2 separate regions of the Homo sapiens genome follow, and region 1 is linked to region 2. The links are contacts of gene promoters, found by promoter capture Hi-C in human tissues and cell types (Jung and others, 2019). All regions are on one chromosome and are shown on one strand. The core of a region is centred on a gene start or on the middle of the fragment in contact, and the rest is flanking DNA. Distances in the headings are between cores, read along the strand shown.

Region 1 (5,528 bases), core at 708-3,207, 1.1 Mb after region 2:
ATCTGGATAATTGTCTTTAAAAACCCATCTGAAGTGAACTTTCTCGGTGCAGTCCAGCAGCAGCACAGCAGTGCAGCCGCGGCTGCCCAGCAGGGCGGCTACGAGATCCCCGCGCGGCTGCGGACGCTCCACAACCTGGTGATCCAGTACGCCTCGCAGGGGCGCTACGAGGTAGCTGTGCCCCTCTGCAAGCAGGCCCTGGAGGACCTGGAGAAGACTTCAGGACACGACCACCCGGACGTGGCCACCATGCTCAACATCCTGGCCTTGGTGTACAGGCTAGTCACTTTTGTTTACCTACTGAATTTTACCTAGAGACAATGTTTTTAACCATCTTGCCCCTTAAAATATATTTTTATGTATCTGTATAAACTATTTTTCAACCATATCCACTTCTCTTTAAACAGGGGTTAAATTAAAAATATTTAGCAAGCTTTTTTTTTTTTTTGAGACGGAGTCTCGTTCTGTCACCCAGGCTGGAGTGCCGGGGTGTGATCTCGGTTCACTGCAAGCTCCGCCTCCCGGGTTCACGCCATTCTCCTGCCTCAGCCTCCCGAGTAGCTGGGACTTCAGGCACCCGCCACCATGCCTGGCTAATTTTTTTGTATTTTTAGTAAAGACGGGGTTTCATCGTGTTAACCAGGATGGTCTCGATCTCCTGACCTCGTGATCCGCCCGCCTCAGCCTCCCAAAACGCTGGGATTACAGGCGTGAGCCACCGCGCCCGGCCTATTTAGCAAGCTTTGTGGAAGGGTGTCACTGAATCAGAAGAACAGATGCTGCCCGTGACCACTCAGTTCAGCTTGTTTAGAATAGACCACAGTGTACCCCTAACGCCAGCCAAACGAAGCTGTTTTGACCTTTTCCACAAGACCCTGTGCAGGCGGCTTCTTTTGTCTAAATAGCCTTCCCACTTGGCCTGGCGGTGTCTTCCTGCCTTCTGAGGCCTGGTGCGCTGTGCCTCCTTTTGGAATCCGGGATTCAACTTGCCCTTTGCCCCTTGTGTGCTCCCCGAACCCTTTCACCCCTGTTGAAGGACGCCCCGGGGGAGTGGTGGGCTCTCAGTTGTGTGGTAGAAGAGTTCCTTTGGCTCAGTGCCTAGGATGCAGTTGGGGGCTGGAGCCGGAGGCAGGGTGTCCTGTTGGGACAGGATTGAGGTTGTCGGGGTGGGGCGAGGGGAACCTGAGCAAGGAGGAGGACGTGGAGGAAGAGGAGAGTACAGGGCCTAATGACGCTTGAAGAGAAATGCGGTGATATGACTACCCACACGCATAAGTGATTTCTTTAAAAATAAGTTTTGAAAGTTGATAAAATAAAAACACACAAATAAGAAAGTAAGCCCCCTGTTATAACAACACTATTTAAAATGAGGCCGTTCCCTTTGGCTCTGTAGTTTGTCAGCAGCTTGGTCTGCCCCATGACTATGCAGCAGGGTTTCGTGGACATTCTGGACATTTTTTGACTGTTTTCCTGTTGGTGAATGTTGAGATTGTTTGCATATTTTCTTTTTTCTTTTTTTTGAGACAGAGTCTGGCTCTGTCACCCAGGCTGGAGTGCAGTGGTGCAATCTCAGCTCACCGCAACCTCTGCTTCCTGAGTTCAAGTGATTCTCCTGCTTCAGCCTCCTGAGTAGCTGGGATTACAGGCATGCGCCACCATGCCTGGCTAACTTCTGTATTTTTAGTAGAGACGGGGTTTCACCATGTTGGCCAGGCTGGTCTCAAACTCCTGACCTCAAGTGATCCTTCTGTCTCGGCCTCCCAAAGTGCTGGGATTACAGGCATGAGCCACTGTGCCTGGCCAATTGTTTGCATATTTCACTGCAGGAATTTCTTAGTCAGAGATATTTGCATTTAGCTCTTAATTAGATTGAGACATTTCATTGCAAAAAAATTTTTTTTTTGAGATAGGGTCTTGCTCAGTGATGCGATCATGGGTCATTGCAACCTCTGACTCCTGGCCTCAAGCAATCTTCCTGCCTCACCTTCCTGAGTAGCTGGGACCACAGGCATGCACCACTACACCCAGCTAAATTTTATATATTTCATAGAGACAGCGTTTTGCCATGTTGCCCAGGCTGGTCTCGAACTCCTGGGCTTAAGTGATCTGCTCAGCTCGGTACCCCATAGTGCTAGGATTACAGGCGTGAACCACTGCACTTGGCCAAGGCTTTTTTTTTTTTTTTTTTTTTTTTAAACTTATATGCCCATTAAAACATATGGAAGTTTCTGGACAGCACTGGATATTATTAATATAAATGAGTTAAGTAAGCATAACTAGGTTTTTGTTGTGCACAGCGTGCATGGGCACACACATCACTGCTGGGTGCTGGGGATGCCATGGCCTCTGTCAGTCTTGTGTTTTTCCCTAGCATTATAGTGTGAGAGTTGACCCACGTGCGTAGATGTTTGGGAAAAAAATAGTAGCTACATATGTATTCATATTCAGTATTCTACCTTTCAGCTTGTTATTTCATCATTCTTGTATTAAGGGACACATAATTTTAAGCTTTTTTTTTTTGCCTTTAATATTTTACTGATCTTTATAAGGTTTGTTCAAGATTTTGGATTGATTGATTGGTTGTAGAGATGGAGTCTCACCATGTTGCTCAGGCTGGTCTCAAACTCCTGGGCTCCAAATGATCCTCCACCTTGACGTCCCAAAGTGCTGGGATTATAGGTGTGAGCTGCGAGGTACCACGCCTGGCCAGGATGGATTGATTGATTTCTTTTCTTTCTTTCTGTCTGTCTGTCTGTCTTTCTGTCTTGTCTTGTCTTGTCCTGTCCTGTCCTGTCTTGTGTCTTGATGGAGTTTTGCTCTTGTCGCCCAGGCTAGAGTGCAGTGGAGTGATCTCAGCTCACTGCAACCTCAGCCTCTGGAGTTCAACCATTTCTCCTGCCTCAGCCTCCCAAGTAGCTGGGATTACAGACACCTGCCACCAAGCCCCGCTAATTTTTTGTATTTTTTAGTAGAGACAGTGTTTTGTCATGTTGGCCAGGCTGGTCTCAAAACTCCTGACCTCAGGTGATCCACCCTCCTTGGCCTCCCAAAGTGCTAGGATTACAGGTGTGAGCCACTGTGCCCAGCCATGTATTTCTTTTTTTAGGATAAATTCCTAAGACGGGTTAGAGTATAAACATTTTATAGTCCTTGGTACCTGCTGCCAAACTGCCACTCAGAAAGGCTGTGTCTGCCCATGCTTCTGCCGCACAGGCGCCACCCTGGAGGTGGGGGGCTCTATTCCGTTGGTGGAGATAGAGTATGCATTGTGTTTTAATTTGTATTTCTTTGATTATGTATTTTTAGTCATTTGTATCCTTCTGTGAATTTCCTGTTACCTTGCACATTTTTCTGTTAGGATTTTAATGCTTTAGTATTCTATGTTTGTTTTCTTTTGAATTTGAGTTCTTGGTGGGCTTCTTTTTGTTTTTTTTGAGACGGAGTCTCGCTGTCACCCAGGCTGGAGTGCAGTGGCGTTGTCTGGGCTCACTGCAAGCTCCGCCTCCCGGGTTCACGCCATTCTCCTGCCTCAGCCTCCCGAGTAGCTGGGACTACAGGCGCCTGCCACCGCGCCCGGCTAATTTTTTGTATTTTTAGTAGAGACGGAGTTTCACCATGTTAGCCAGGATGGTCTTGATCTCCTGACCTTGTGATCCACCCGCCTTGGCCTCCCAAAGTGCTGGGATTACAGGCATGAGCCACCGTGCCCGGCCCTTGGTGGGCTTCTTAAACCCACTTGATTTAACAAATCACAGTGTGCTAGTCCCACTCCCAGAGTTTCTGATTCAGCAGGGCTAGGGTAGTCTGGGTTTCTAATAAGTTCCAGTTGAGGCTGACTGCTGTTGGTTTGGGACCACACCGGAGAACCACTGCTAACTAATAGTCCCAGACATTTTATAATATGTCATCGTTTACAGAAGTGTTTAATATACCTCATCTCATTTAATTCTTTTTTTTTTTTTTCTGAAACGAAGTCTTGCTCTTGTACCCCTGGCTGGAGTGCAATGGTGTGATCTCAGCTCACTGCAACCTCTGCCTCCCGGGTTGAGGCGATTCCACCCACCCCGGCCTCCCAAAGTGCTGGGATTACAGGCGTGAGCCACCGTGCCTGGCCATTTTTTTTCTTTCTTTTTTTTTTTTTTTTTGATACGGAGTCTTGCTCTGTCGCCCGGGCTGGCATGCAATGGCATCATCTTGGCTCATTGCAACCTCTGCCTCCCAGGTTCAAGCGATTCTCCTGCCTCAGCCTCCCTAGTAGTTGGGATTACAGGTGCCCGCCAGCATGCCCAGCTAATTTTTTTTATTTTTAGTAGAGACAGGGTCTTATCATTCTTGGTCAGGCTGGTCTCAAACTCCTGACCTCAGGTGACCCACCCGCCTTAGCCTCGCAAAGTGTTGGGATTACAGGCGTGAGCCACCATGTCCGGCCTCATTTAATTCTCATAACACTTTAGGTAGCTTATTTTATTTTATTTTTTTTACACGGAGTTTCACTCTTGTTGGCCAGGCTGGAGTGCAATGGCACAATCTCAGCTCACTGCAACCTCTGCCTCCTGGGTTCAAGCGATTCTTCTGCCTCAGGCTCCCGAGTAGCTGGGATTACAGGTGCCTGCCACCACACCCAGCTAATTTTTGTATTTTTAGTAGAGACAGGGTCTTGCTATGTTGGTTGATCTTGAACTCCTGACCTCGGGTGATCTACCCGCCTCAGCCTCCCAGAGTGCTGGGATTACAGGCGTGAGCCACCGTGCCCAGCCTTGGTAGCTTATTTTTAAATTGCATTTGCTACAATTCTCCTGCCTCAGCCTCCCGAGTAGCTGGGACTACAGGTGCATGTCGCCAGGCCTGGCTAATTTTTTGTATTTTAGTAGAGATGGGGTTTCACTGTGTTGCCCAGGCTTGTCTTGAACTCCTGAGCTCAGGCAGTCTGCCCGCCTCAGCCTCCCAAAGTGCTAGGATTGCAGGTGTGAGCCACCGCACCTGGCCACTACTTTTTGGAACTCTATTTTGTACTTGCTGACTTTCACAAAAAGTTTGAGGCAGCTTACAATAGGATGTAATAGGATGAAAGAAGAAACAACAATATATTAATACGTGGCCAGAATTAGTGTGCTTCAGAGGTTGTAGAAGCCTTATTAACCTTTCTCACGTTTTTCAGGGGAAAGCCTTGCCAGGCAGTTACTACTACTCAATTGAGAAAGATGTGTGCTAAGTCTCAAAAGCAAGTACTTGTTCTCAGTCACATCAGTAGTGAGTAGCACGCTTAAACTGAGAGTTTCTGGTTCTGGGGTGTTTCTGTTTTACTCCAATCAAGAAAGATTCTTCGTTCCTCCATACTCAACAAAATGGAGGGAGACTGGGTACCAAGTTCAGACACAACAATATATTTACTTTTGTTTGTTGTTTTTTAAAATATTTTTTCAGTATACATGTAGCATATCATCTTCTTACAGCAAGACTGTGCAATAGATCATATACTTGCTTTGTAGATGGGAAGGCTGGGACTGCGTGAGGTCACGTAATGCACC
Region 2 (6,279 bases), core at 3,780-6,279:
GCGCAATCTCTGCTCACTGCAACCTCCGCCTCCTGTATTCATGTGATTCTCCTGCCTCAGCCTCCCGAGTAGCTGGGATTACAGGAGCCTGCCACCATCTGCAGCAAAATTTTTATCTGTAGGAGAGACGCGGTTTCTCCATGTTGGTTAGGCTGGTCTCGAACTCCCGACCTCAGGTGATCCATCCGCTTCAGCCTCCCAAAGTGCTGGGATTACAGGCGTAAGCCACCATGCTCACCCACACAAGTTTTAATTTTTATGAATTCCAATTTTTCTCTTTTGTTCCTTATCCTTTTGGCATCGTAATCAAGAAGACTTTGCCTACCTCATGGTCACAGAGATTTAGGTTTTCATCTGACAGTTTTATAGTTTTACAATTAGGTCTTACAATTAGGTCTACGATTTACTTGCTTAGTTATTAACATATTAAGTAACAAGTTCTAGCAGTGGGTCTAATAACTTCTGTGATTTTGGAGACGAGTATACGTGCTATTTTGAGGCTGGGCGCGGTGGCTCATGCCTGTAATCCCAGCACTTTGGGAGGCCAAGGTGGGCGGATCACGACGTCAGGAGTTCGACACCAGTCTGGCCAACATGGTGAAACCCCATCTCTACTAAAAACACAAAAATTAGCTGGGCGTGGTGGTGGGTGCCTGTGATCCCAGCTACTCAGAGCCTGAGGGAGGAAAATAGTTGGAACCCGGGAGGTTGCACTGAGCTGAGATCATGCCACTGCACTCCAGCCTGGGCGACAGAACAAGACTCTGTCTCAAAAAATAAAATAAAAATAAAATAAATAAATAAATGCTATTTTGAGATATTTCCAGTGACTGCAATGTGTTGAGATGGAATATCACCTACATTCATAAGTGAAGAAAATGCTGGATTTTGGTTAAAGGTTGATTTTTTTTTTGAGACAGGGGTCTTGCTGGAGGCCTCAAAGTACCTGGGATTATAAGTGAGTGCCACCGCACTTGGTGTTAAAGGTTAATTTAAATAAAGATGTATTTACCAGCTCTGGTTCATGGTCTCCAGAATTCTATCCATGGATTCCAGGTTCAGAACTCTTAGGATGGCTAAAATTCCAGCCTGAAGTCTCAGTTTTCCAATAGTCCTTTGGGGGCTTGAAACCTCCCAGGAATGGCTTTAGGGTGTTTTCCTGACACTTCCCAGCCCTGGCCCATACCCTGCCCTCTGCCTGGCTCCATTCTTGGGAAAGGAATTCCTTGCCAAACAGAATTTTCTAACAAGCCCAAATATAGTAATAATAATAATTAGCAGCAGGAAGAACTATAAACACTGGGGTAGGAAAGCCTGTACCCGTCTCTCCTTTTCCTGATCCCTTCCCTTCATTCCTGAACTGAAGGAGACGGAGCCCCTTTGGGCTTTGATGACTCCATCACTGGGGTATGTTCATTTGATGGTTGATTTTGCTGTACCAGGTACTTCCTTTCCCATTTTCTAATCATTTTATAACACATGCTGACTCTTTTCCCTTCCCTTTTTCTGGGAAAATACAATGAATACAAAATTATAAACACTGTATGTTTAGCATCAGACCAAGCATGTTGCAGACACCCTTGCCCCTGGCCGTCCCAGAATCCCTGGGGCAACTCTGGCCTTGGTTAAGAGGCTCCATAGCTCCTGGCTTAGCTGTGCCCCGGCTCCTCCCCTCATATCATGCCTGATCCTAGGAAGATATTTCACTTCTGGGTGCCTCAGCTTTCTCATCTATAAGGGTGGGGTATGAGATGGTCATGGTCATAGTTTTTGTTTTTTTTTAGGGTGGGGGGACGAGATGGTCATAGGGTCACAGTTTTTTTTTTTGTTTTTGTTTTATACAGACGGGATCTCGCTATGTCACCGGGCGCCATGGCTCAAGCCTGTAATCCCAGCACTTTGGAAGTCCGAGGCGGGCGGATCACGAGGCCAGGAGTTCAAGACCAGCCTGGCCAATATGGTGAAACCCCGTCTCTACTAAAAATACAAAAATTAGCCGGGTGTAGTGGCGGGTGCCTGTAATCTTAGCTACTCGGGAGGCTGAGGCAGAGGTTGCAGTGAGCCCAGATCGTGCCACTGGACTCCAGCCTGGGCGACAGAGTGAGACTCTGGATAAAAAAAAAATTAATGAAAGGAAAAAGGCAAGGAGGAATCCCAACGATGACAGGTTGAAAGCTGCAGAGGAGACTGATGGGGAGTGACCTGTGAGGTAGCAGGACCAGGTGAACTGGAATCCCCAGGTCCAGATAAGTGAGGGTTTCCAGGAGGAGGAGTGGTCGACTCAGCTGCTGCTGAGAAGCTCAGCGAGACCAAGAAGTGACCCCCGGATTGGGCAGCGGAGAGGTTGTAGGTTACCTTAGCAGCAGTTAAGGGGTGGGGACACAGCCCTGCTGGATGGGGTGATGAGAGGCTGGGACGGGAAGGGGTGGAGGAGGTGAGTGTAGGGAAGTCTACAGAAATGTCTGAAGGGAGGGAGAAATGGCCAGAGGCAGGAGAGGGTTTGGGGGCAGGAGTCGGTCCAGAGTGAGGCTGATGGCACAGAAAAGCCTCGAGGGGAGGGCAGCGGGATGGGGTCCTAGGCCTGAGGAGGACGTGAGTACCCGACAGGGAAGTTTGTCTGTTTGGGTACTGGGAGAGGAGAAAGATCCTGAAGGCTTTCGTTTTTCTCTGAAGAATGAGGTAAGGCCACGGGCTAGGAGCCCAGGCAGAAGGGGCTGTGGGAGGTGTAAGGAGAGGGGAGCAGGCATGAGGTCTCACTTTCAGAGTGGGAGTCTCACCGAAAAACATGATAGGGCTGCCGGCTTTGTGGATGCGTTAGAAGTGTGGGATCACAAATTCCCAATCCCAGGGCTGTGTGTGGAGCCCTCTCCCCAAGCGATGGGAAGGCGAGTGTCCTTAACGTTGGGGTTCCCTATGCTGGAAGGATGGACTCTATTACAGTCCATCAGGCCAGGAGGTAGGTACTGTTTCCTGTATTTTACGGTTGGTAAATCTGAGAGCTTCAGGCCAATACAGTATCGGTGTAGCATTAGGGTCAGACAAAATAGAACAGGGCCCGGCACATATTAAGTGTTAATATTCGTTGGAAAAAAAAAAAAAAGAATGCTTGTCAAGTCCACTGCTGCGCCCCTACTGGTAGCCCAGCCTGGCCTCAGCCTTGGGGGCTGGTGGGTGGAGAGGGCGGCCTTGTGTGCTCTGCTATCCCTATTGCCTTAATGACCCAGTATCACCTTTGTGCCCTTGTAGGTTGATCCTTCTAGTCTCGTGGCAGAACTTTGTAGACACCAAGCGAGCGGGGCAGCGTGTTCTGGACCTCATTCCTCACACAGGGCTCACCTCCGGATGAGTCAGAGGCCTTAGCCGGTGGCCCAGCCCCGGGAATGCCACCCCGGTTCTGTACCCTGCCCAGGCCAGCTGACAGGGTGTATTGGGGCACACACCTGCAGCATCCAGGGCACTCCAAGGAGAGGGACGTACTTTTGAGGAGAGTCTAAAAGTCTAAGTCCCCCACCTGAACTTGGTGGGGGAAGGGCTTCTATACCAGGAGGGCTCCCAGCCCTGTTTCTTAAAGGCCATTTAGGCAGAAGTGAACGTGGTCTCTTCAATAAAGTTAATAATGGTTCATGCTGCAGAAAATGTTCAAGACAAAACCCTGCTTATTTACTCAGGCTTTAAAACCATAAAACTCCCAAATTCTCCCTGTAGCTATTTATATCCAGAGCTAGTCCCCAAATTAAGCTCAGGTTTGAAGTAACTTAAAAGAAAAATAGCCTTCCCTGCTTTAAAAAGATTTTCCGTATAGACCTCCACTGGTCTAATTACGAAGGGCGCGTAGTTTCAGGGTTGGCTGGGGGTAGGGCACCGGGACCTCCAAGGCAGTTACACTCCTCAGCCTCCTAACAGCTGTACGGCTGCCCGGTGGTCCCTCTCCAAGGCAGCGGCTCTCAGGCTAGCCTCAGCCTACCCCACCCGCCCGCACCCCGTGTTCTCCCTCGTGGGGGTGCCGGGGGGAGTAGGGAGGCGGGGCGGGCGGCAGGTCCGGAAAAGTGGCTGCCCTCGCCCCGAAAGAAGTTGACCCTCCTCCCGTGCCGAGAGCTTGGGATGAAAATAGCTTCTTCCTCTTTACCCTTCCTGGACCCCCGCCCCAGGACGACTGGGCCCCTTCATTCATCTTTCAGCGGCCACCCAGGCGGCTTGGGCGTCCCCACGCCGGGACTCTGTGCCCCGGGGACCCACGGGGACCCTCCCTTGGGCCTCTGAAGCCGCGGCGCACCCCGCACCCAAGCCACCCCGGGGGCCCCGGCCTCCCCCACCCAATTAGCGGGCAGCACCGCAGACCCGAGTCCCCACGCAGCTCGCGCCAGGGGAGGCGGCCGCCTGGGAAGCCCGTCCCCCGCGCCGCGGCCCCCGCCCCCGCCAGCCCCGCGTCCCCTGGGAAAGGCGGGGGCGCAGCGAGTTTCCCCCAATTAGTTTCCTCTTTGTATGGAGTCTTAGCGCGCCCGTACTCCTCCGCGCAGCGGAAAGTAGTCCCGGCCGGGCGCTCCGCGGCTTCCCAGCGCCAGACACATTTTACTTTGAGAAGTCGACGGGACTCTCAGCGGGGTCCTTCAGATGGGGGGCCAGAGGCTGCGGGAGGCGTGCGCGGGCAGCAAGGGCAGGGGCCGCGGCCAAGGGTAGGGGGCGGGGAGGGCCGCGAACTCCTCGCCGCTGCCTGGAGAGATGGATCATGGGGCGTAGGGAGATGGCAAACCTCAAACCACGTACGGCGGGCGATACGCGTCAACCGAACCTCGCCAACGGAAGCCCGGAGCCGCCCCTCCCCGCTCCCCCGCCCCGCCGCCCCGGACGGACGGGCGCGCGGAGCCAACCCCGCTGCCGCTGGCTGTCCAAATCCCACCAGAGCCAATGGGAGCGCGAGGGGGGGCGGAGCCATCTCGCGTCAGTTGGGCTGCGCGCCCCCCTCCCCCGGCGCCCCTGCAGGCCCCGCCCCTGCCTCCTCCCCTCTCCGCTCGCTGCTCCCGGAGTAGTTGGTGCCAGTGAAGTGAGGGCGGCGATGAGAGCGAAAGTTGCGCTCGGCTCGTCGCTGGGGGCTTGAAGCGGCTCCGCGCTCTGCCCGTTTGGGCCTCCCCCGACTCGGACTCGCGCCCGTGGGCTCCCGCCGCGCCCGCCCGGCCCCGCGCCGGCCCCGCGCCCCCTCCCCCGTCTCGGCGCCCCCTCCTCAGGAGCCGCGGGTCCCCGCCACTTTCGCACGGCCCCGGCCCCCGCCGATGCCGGCCATGGTGGAGAAGGGCCCCGAGGTCTCAGGGAAGCGGAGAGGGAGGAACAACGCGGCCGCCTCCGCCTCCGCCGCCGCCGCCTCCGCCGCCGCCTCGGCCGCCTGCGCCTCGCCAGCCGCCACTGCCGCCTCGGGCGCCGCCGCCTCCTCAGCCTCGGCCGCCGCCGCCTCAGCCGCCGCCGCCCCCAATAATGGCCAGAATAAAAGTTTGGCGGCGGCGGCGCCCAATGGCAACAGCAGCAGCAACTCCTGGGAGGAAGGCAGCTCGGGCTCGTCCAGCGACGAGGAGCACGGTAGGTGGCAGCCGCCCCCGCGGCCCCGGGCCCCGCGCCCCGCGCCGCGCTGACCGCCGTATTCTGCTTCCCCCGCAGGTGGCGGTGGCATGAGGGTCGGACCCCAGTACCAGGCGGTGGTGCCCGACTTCGACCCCGGTGAGTAGCGGCCCCGGCCGGCCGGCGGCGGGGATGAGCGGGAGCCCCGGGTCCCCGGCGAGCCCGAGGGGGCGGGAGCCCGCCGACAACTTTCTTTTTGTGCGTTCGCCCTGCCGTCCGTGGGGAGAACAGCAGGGCGAGGACGAGGAGGCGCACACGCACACGAGTGTTCTGCAAACGTGCCTCTGCACCCGGGGGAGGCCAGGTCGCCCCCAGCAGGGCCGGCGCCGCTGCCCCCTTGCGCCTCCGAGGACTGCGGGTGGCGTCGGAGGTGGCCACACCTGGCCTGGGGGCGCTGGGGGTCCCTGCGTCCAGGTGAGCTGCGCCTCGGCCAGGGGTAAGGGTGGCAGTGCCGGAGAGTTAGTGTCCTGCGAGCGCCCCGGACTTAGGAGGTCCCCAGAGACCCCTTTCTCGGAACCCTTCCCAAAGGCTGCTCCCCACGCCTTTGCTCCTCCTCTCAGCCTCTGGGCTCTTGCTGGCTCCTGACTGCCCTCCCATCCAGAAGGCGAGTAGAAGAACGACCCCCCAAAACCAGTCAATAAAAGAAGTGTGTTTTCCAGAGGGCGCCTGCCT

Evidence for each region. The method cuts DNA at HindIII sites, captures the fragments that hold promoters and counts their contacts. A contact is called where the count stands out against the background at its distance.
Region 1: a contact is called between a fragment that was not itself captured here and the fragment with the promoter of RCOR1 in region 2, in 1 of the 25 tissues and cell types used here (aorta).

What each region holds. Positions count from the first base shown.
Region 1 is chr14:103,662,650-103,668,177 of GRCh38, forward strand. KLC1 (kinesin light chain 1) reads left to right here. Exons shown (of 17, transcript NM_001394837.1): 5 at 53-278. Among named protein-coding and RNA genes, the nearest start is that of KLC1, 36 kb to the left of the region's middle. The HindIII fragment of the contact is 4,198 bases long and covers 1-4,056 here.
Region 2 is chr14:102,587,620-102,593,898 of GRCh38, forward strand. RCOR1 (REST corepressor 1) reads left to right here and starts at 5,030. Exons shown (of 12, transcript NM_015156.4): 1 at 5,030-5,568; 2 at 5,647-5,706. The coding sequence starts at 5,268. RefSeq lists enhancers at 3,302-3,351, 3,633-4,448 and silencers at 4,027-5,336, 5,397-6,006. The HindIII fragment of the contact is 11,930 bases long and covers 1-6,279 here.